Regions from separate parts of the Homo sapiens genome. Here region 2 is linked to region 1. Evidence: promoter capture Hi-C in 16 types of primary human blood cells and fetal thymus (Javierre and others, 2016). All regions are on one chromosome and are shown on one strand. The core of a region is centred on a gene start or on the middle of the fragment in contact, and the rest is flanking DNA. Distances in the headings are between cores, read along the strand shown.

Region 1 (2,700 bases), core at 25-2,524:
TGCTGGTGAGTATACCGTTTCTGCAGGAAGTAAAAATGGCCTTGCTGAGTAAATTAAATTTATGTTCAAGTGCTAATTTCTTTATGGCACCAGGGAACAAGCATTTTGAACATGTATATTTATATATTTTTTATATATTTATATATTTATATGTATTTATACATATATGTTTATATATATATATATAGAGAGAGAGAGAGAGAGAGAGACAGGGTCTTGCTACTTTGCCCAGGCTGGTCTCAAACTCTTGGACTTGTAGAAAATGAAATAAATACAGGTTCCTCTTCAAAGGGACTTTCCTCCCAGTCTGATTGAAATAAATAGTAATCCCTCTTAGAAGCCAAATTTTCTCAAAGACCTGTGGTAATATTGTTAAATTCTGCCAGCCGTAATAAAGAAATCAATAGACTCTGTTTTTAGCTCCCACATTTTAGCCTAGATATTTGCCCTGGCATGCCTGAACTGGTCCAAGCAACTATTAGGTCATGGCCTATTCCTTTCCCTATTTAGAAGTGTTTTTGCCTCTCTCAACAGTCCACAAGTTACTTCCTCTCTTCCTTTGTTCTCCTCTGCCATTGCCTCTTTTGGGAAGTTCTAAGTTGCTAGCCAATCCAGTGAAGTACAGGAAGGTGAGGTCCCGTTCCAGCCAATGGAAGCTGGACACAGCAGAAGGATGGACACTTCAAGTTTAAAAAAACCCTGTCTCCTTTGTTAATGTGTGCTCTGGTGGCAAGACTGCCAGCCAGTGGCACCCATTCTGCAGAAAGTAAAACTAGCCTTGCTGAGATCCTTTGTCTCAGTGTTGATTTTGTGACACCAAGCGAGCACCCATTCCCAGCAGACTCAAGCTATTTACCTACCTTAGCCTCCCAAAGTGCAGGAATTACAGGCGTGAGCCACTGCGCTCGCCCGATAAAAGCTTTGGAGGAGCATCCCCCGGGGATGCGTCCCATCCCTCATCCCCGCCCTTCCAGCCCGACCGGCCACCTGAACCACCGGCTAGGCCGGGTCCCTCCTCTAAATCACCCCCCGAGTACGAGCCCCTCCCCTCGCCCACAGTTCCGTCTGGAGGCCCGGTTCTAACCTCACCTTTTTCTCTGGACCTAGTTCTGCATCCCCCTCCCTGAGCCAACCCCAGGCCCTTTCTGCACCCACCCGAGAGGAAACTAGAATTTCTGTGTTCTACCCGGTCCTACGTGGCTGAAACTGGAGCCCACGAGCCTCGCCCGGCCAGAGTGTTGAAGCGGAAGTGACGTCAGCGCACCACCGCCATCTTTTCCGGCGCTGGCTCCTCTCCGTCAGTGCGGTTTCGCCTTTATGGTGGTGGAGTCTGCCCAGGCTGTGGTGAGTTCCACCTCCTTGGCGGTCCCGGGGATAGCAGGGGGCGGCAAAGGAATGATTGCGCGCTGTCGCCTAGGAGCCTCTCAGATCCGCTTCACTTCACTCGCTTCTCCAGGGACTATCAGTCCTCCCTGTGCGTCCAGTTCGGAGAGGCTGCGCGCTCTCTCGGCTCACTGCAACCTCTGCAACCTCTGCCTCCAGGGTCAAGCAGTTCTCCTGCCTCAGCCTTCCGAGTACCTGGGATTACAGGCAAGTGCCACCACGCCCGGCTACTTTTTCTATCTTTAGTAGAGATGGTTTTGCCATGTTGGCCAGGCTGGTCTTGAACTCCTGACCTTAGGTGATCTGTCTGCCTCGGTCCCCCAAAGTGCTGGGATTATAGGTGTGAGCCACTGCACCCGGCCGACTTTTGAAAATTTTAGATTTTGTTCTTAAGTCATCTTAGGTACGTAATGAAGTTATCAATAACACACGTGGCTGGTGACTACTGAATTGTTCTGTGCAGGTCTGCACTGTCTTCTGGTCATATGGCGGGGGGGTAACACCATATACAGGAGATCAGGCTCTAGGGACAAGTATCAGACCGACTACTAGGGTTGTTTGAGTGTAGGTTTTTTTCAGTATTAAATAGAAGTAATGGGCCAGGCATCGTGGCTTATGCTTATTATCCCAGCACTTTGGGAGGCCAAGTCAGGAGGATTGTTTGAGCCCAGGAGTTTGAGACTAGCCTAGGCAATCTGGTGAAAACTTGTCTCTACTAAAACTACAAAAAATTAGCCGGACCCAGTGGTGTGCACCTGTAGTCCCAGCTAGTTGGGGGGCTGAAGTGGGAGAATCACTTAAGGCCAGGAGTTCAAGACCAGCCTGGCCAATATGGCGAAACTGCGTCTCTACTAAAAATGCAAAAATTAGCCAGGCATGGTAGTGCATACCTGAAATCCCAGCTACTCGGGAGGCTGAGGCCTGATAATCGCTTGCACCTGGGAGGCAGAGGTTGCAATGAGTTGAGATCATGCCACTGCATTCCAGCCTGGGCAACAGAGTGAGACTCTGTCTCAAAATAATAATAATAATAATGAGTGATGATACGCACCTATGGTCCCAGCTATTCAGGAGGCTGAAGTGGGAGGATCACTTGAGCCCGGGAAGTCTAGGCTACAGAGAGTTGTGTTAGTGCCATTGGATTTCAACCTGGGCAACAGAGTGAGACCCTGTCTCGATAGATAGATAGATAGATAGATAGGATAGATATAGATAGATAGATATAGATAGATATATAGATAGATAGATATAGATAGATAAATATAGATAGATATAGATAGATAGAGGTAATGATAGCTACTGGGAAGGATGGCTATG
Region 2 (2,700 bases), core at 88-2,587, 470 kb after region 1:
ATTAAAGCAGAGACAAATGAAATAGAGAATAGGAGAATTAATGAAAACAAAAGTTGGTTCTTTCAAAAAGATCAACAAAGGTGACAAAACTACAGCTAGAATTACTAACAAAAAAAGATGCAAGTAACTAAAATCATCAGTGGAAGTGGGACATTACTACCGACCTTACGGAAATTCAAAGGGCTGTAAGAGAATGCCATGAACAATTATGCACCAACACATTAGATCATCTACACTAGCAGTCCCCACCCAATTTGGCATCAGAGACTGGTGTCATGGAAGACAATTTTTCCATGGATGGTGAGGTGAGGGGGGATGGTTTTGGGATGACTTGAGTGCATTACATTTATTGTGCACTTTATTTCTATTATTATTACATTGTAATATATGGTAAAATAATTATACAACTCACCATAATATAGAATTAGTGGAAGCCCTGAGAGTGTTTTCCTGAAACTAGATGGTCCCATCTGGAGGTGATGGGAGACACTGACAGATCATCAGGCATTAGATTTTCATAAGGAGTGTGCAATCTAGATCCCTTGCATGTGCAGTGCACAATAGGGTCTGCGCCCCTATGAGAATCTAATGCTGCTGATGATCTGACAGGAGGTGGAGTTCAGGGGTAATGTGAGTGATGGGGAGCCGCTGTAAATACAGATGAAGCTTCACTCACTTGCCCTCCGCTCACCTCCTGCGGCAGGGCCTTGTTCCTAAAAGGCCAGGGACCGGTACCTGTCTGTGGCCCAGGGCTTGGGGATCAATGCTCTAGATGTATCAAATTCCTTGAAACATACCCAAACAGGCTCTAGAAGAAAAAGAAAATTGAGAGACCTATAACAAGAGACTGAGGCAGTCATCAAAAGCCATTAAATAAAAAGTCCAGGACCAGCTGGGCACGGTGGCTCACGCCTGTAATCCCAGCATTTTGGGAGGCCGAGGCGGGTGGATCAGGAGGTCAGGAGATCGAGACCATCCTGGCTAACACGGTAAAACCCCATCTCTACTAAAAATACAAAAAATTAGCCAGGCGTGGTGATGAGTGCCTGTAGTCCCAGCTACTCGGGAGGCTGAGGCAGGAGAATGGTGTGAACCTGGGAGGCGGAGCTTGCAGTGAGCCGAGATTGCGCCACTGCACTCCAGCCTGGGCGACAGAGCAAGACTCCGTCTCAAAAAAAAAAAAAAAAAGTCCAGGACCAAGGGGCTTCACTGGTGAACCCTACCAAACATTTAGAATTAACATCAAGGACATTATCAAGAAAGTGAATGAGACACAGAATGGTGGAAAATATTTGCAAATCATGTATGTGATAGGGATTTAATATCATTATAAACTCAACAACAAAGACAACCCAGTAAAAAAGTGGGCAGGAGACTTGAACAGAACAGACATTTCTCCAAATTTACAGAAATGAACTGTAAACACATGAAAAGATGATTAACAACATCAGTCATTAAGGAAATAACATCAAAACCACAATACATTGGTGAGGTATGGTGGCCCACACCTCGGGAGGGGATTTAATTTGCTTTGTATGAACATGCCTCCTCTCTCTGGCTTCCACCGCGACTCTCATGACAGCACTGATGTAAGAACCGTGACGCTGCTACTTTAACATCTGACTCAGATCAATAATCAATATTACCACTTTTAAACATTACCAGGGTTATAACAATCTTTTTCAACATCAATTAGTATTTCTGCTATTGGAATTGTTTTAGATATTCAGAAACATTTCAAAACAATAATATAGGAAGTGTGTTTTAACGTATAAACTCTGCCTTGGGGATTCATTATTCAACACCAAATTTGATCTTGGGCCAACTCAAAGATGCATGACGCTTTCATTCTTTTTACAAAGCCCTTTTCTAGTCATTGTGCCTTTGGGTTCTGACATTAAGTCACTGCTGAGGAAGGGGAGAGAGGGTGACAGAGGCTCAGTTCCTGAGGCACAGTATCTCCATCCTCACCTACCATTCATTCATTCATGCTCAACTAACAAGCTTCTGCAGGTCCCATTCCACCTTTCCCCACCAACATTAATGCCAATTCTACAAATAACGACATGTGTAGTGTTTACAAGGTATGAGACATTCTCCTGAGTCTTTCCAGGGCCACTCCTATTTAATCCTCACAACCTCCCGGAATTATTCTCAAGTACCCAGAGAATAAGGCACCAAGGGTCCGAGACACTTGGTCAAGGTCATAGGTGGAAGTTGTGAGCCCAGCTGACGTGACTGCGGAGCCACATCTTGTTGCCTCTCAAAGTGACCTATGTCACCTGTACTGTCCCCTATGTGGGAACTCCTTGACACTACATCTTGACCCTTCCTTTGCCTGACCTCCTGACACATCATCTTGCTCACTATGAATCTATCTCCCTCTTCCTGGGAATGCCACTGCTCTTGCAGCCATAGCCCACTCATCCCAGTCTGTGCTCACATCTCTGGTTGCTCTTTTGAAGACTCTGGCTTGAGATCCCTCCTCTGCCCAGCCCCTAAAGGTCAGGGTTCCCCTGGGCCCCTCTCCCCCATCTCCCACAGGTCCACATTGTGAAACACCCCCACCATTTGGAGGTGCTGACACCCAGGTTCTGATTGCACTTCTGTGAAGGTCTCCCTGTCCCTGAGGCCTCAGTAGACTCCCCTTTAATGCAAGCCCACAGTTCTGCTCATTCCCCTCCCAAGAGTCAGTTCATC

What was found. The method cuts DNA at HindIII sites, captures the fragments that hold promoters and counts their contacts. A CHiCAGO score of 5 or more calls a contact.
Region 2: a contact is called between a fragment that was not itself captured here and the fragment with the promoter of ZNF561 in region 1, in 1 of 17 cell types (M0 macrophages). The highest score is 7.4, in M0 macrophages.

Annotation. Positions count from the first base shown.
Region 1 is chr19:9,619,806-9,622,505 of GRCh38, reverse strand. It overlaps ZNF561 (zinc finger protein 561), which reads left to right and starts at 1,274. Exons shown (of 6, transcript NM_152289.3): 1 at 1,274-1,344. ZNF561-AS1 (ZNF561 antisense RNA 1) reads right to left here and starts at 1,024. Exons shown (of 4, transcript NR_122038.1): 1 at 861-1,024. RefSeq lists enhancers at 945-1,364, 1,513-2,095. The HindIII fragment of the contact is 2,809 bases long and covers 922-2,700 here.
Region 2 is chr19:9,150,396-9,153,095 of GRCh38, reverse strand. All of the region lies in intron 1 of ZNF317 (zinc finger protein 317), which reads right to left. Among named protein-coding and RNA genes, the nearest start is that of ZNF317, 11 kb to the right of the region's middle. The HindIII fragment of the contact is 1,338 bases long and covers 669-2,006 here.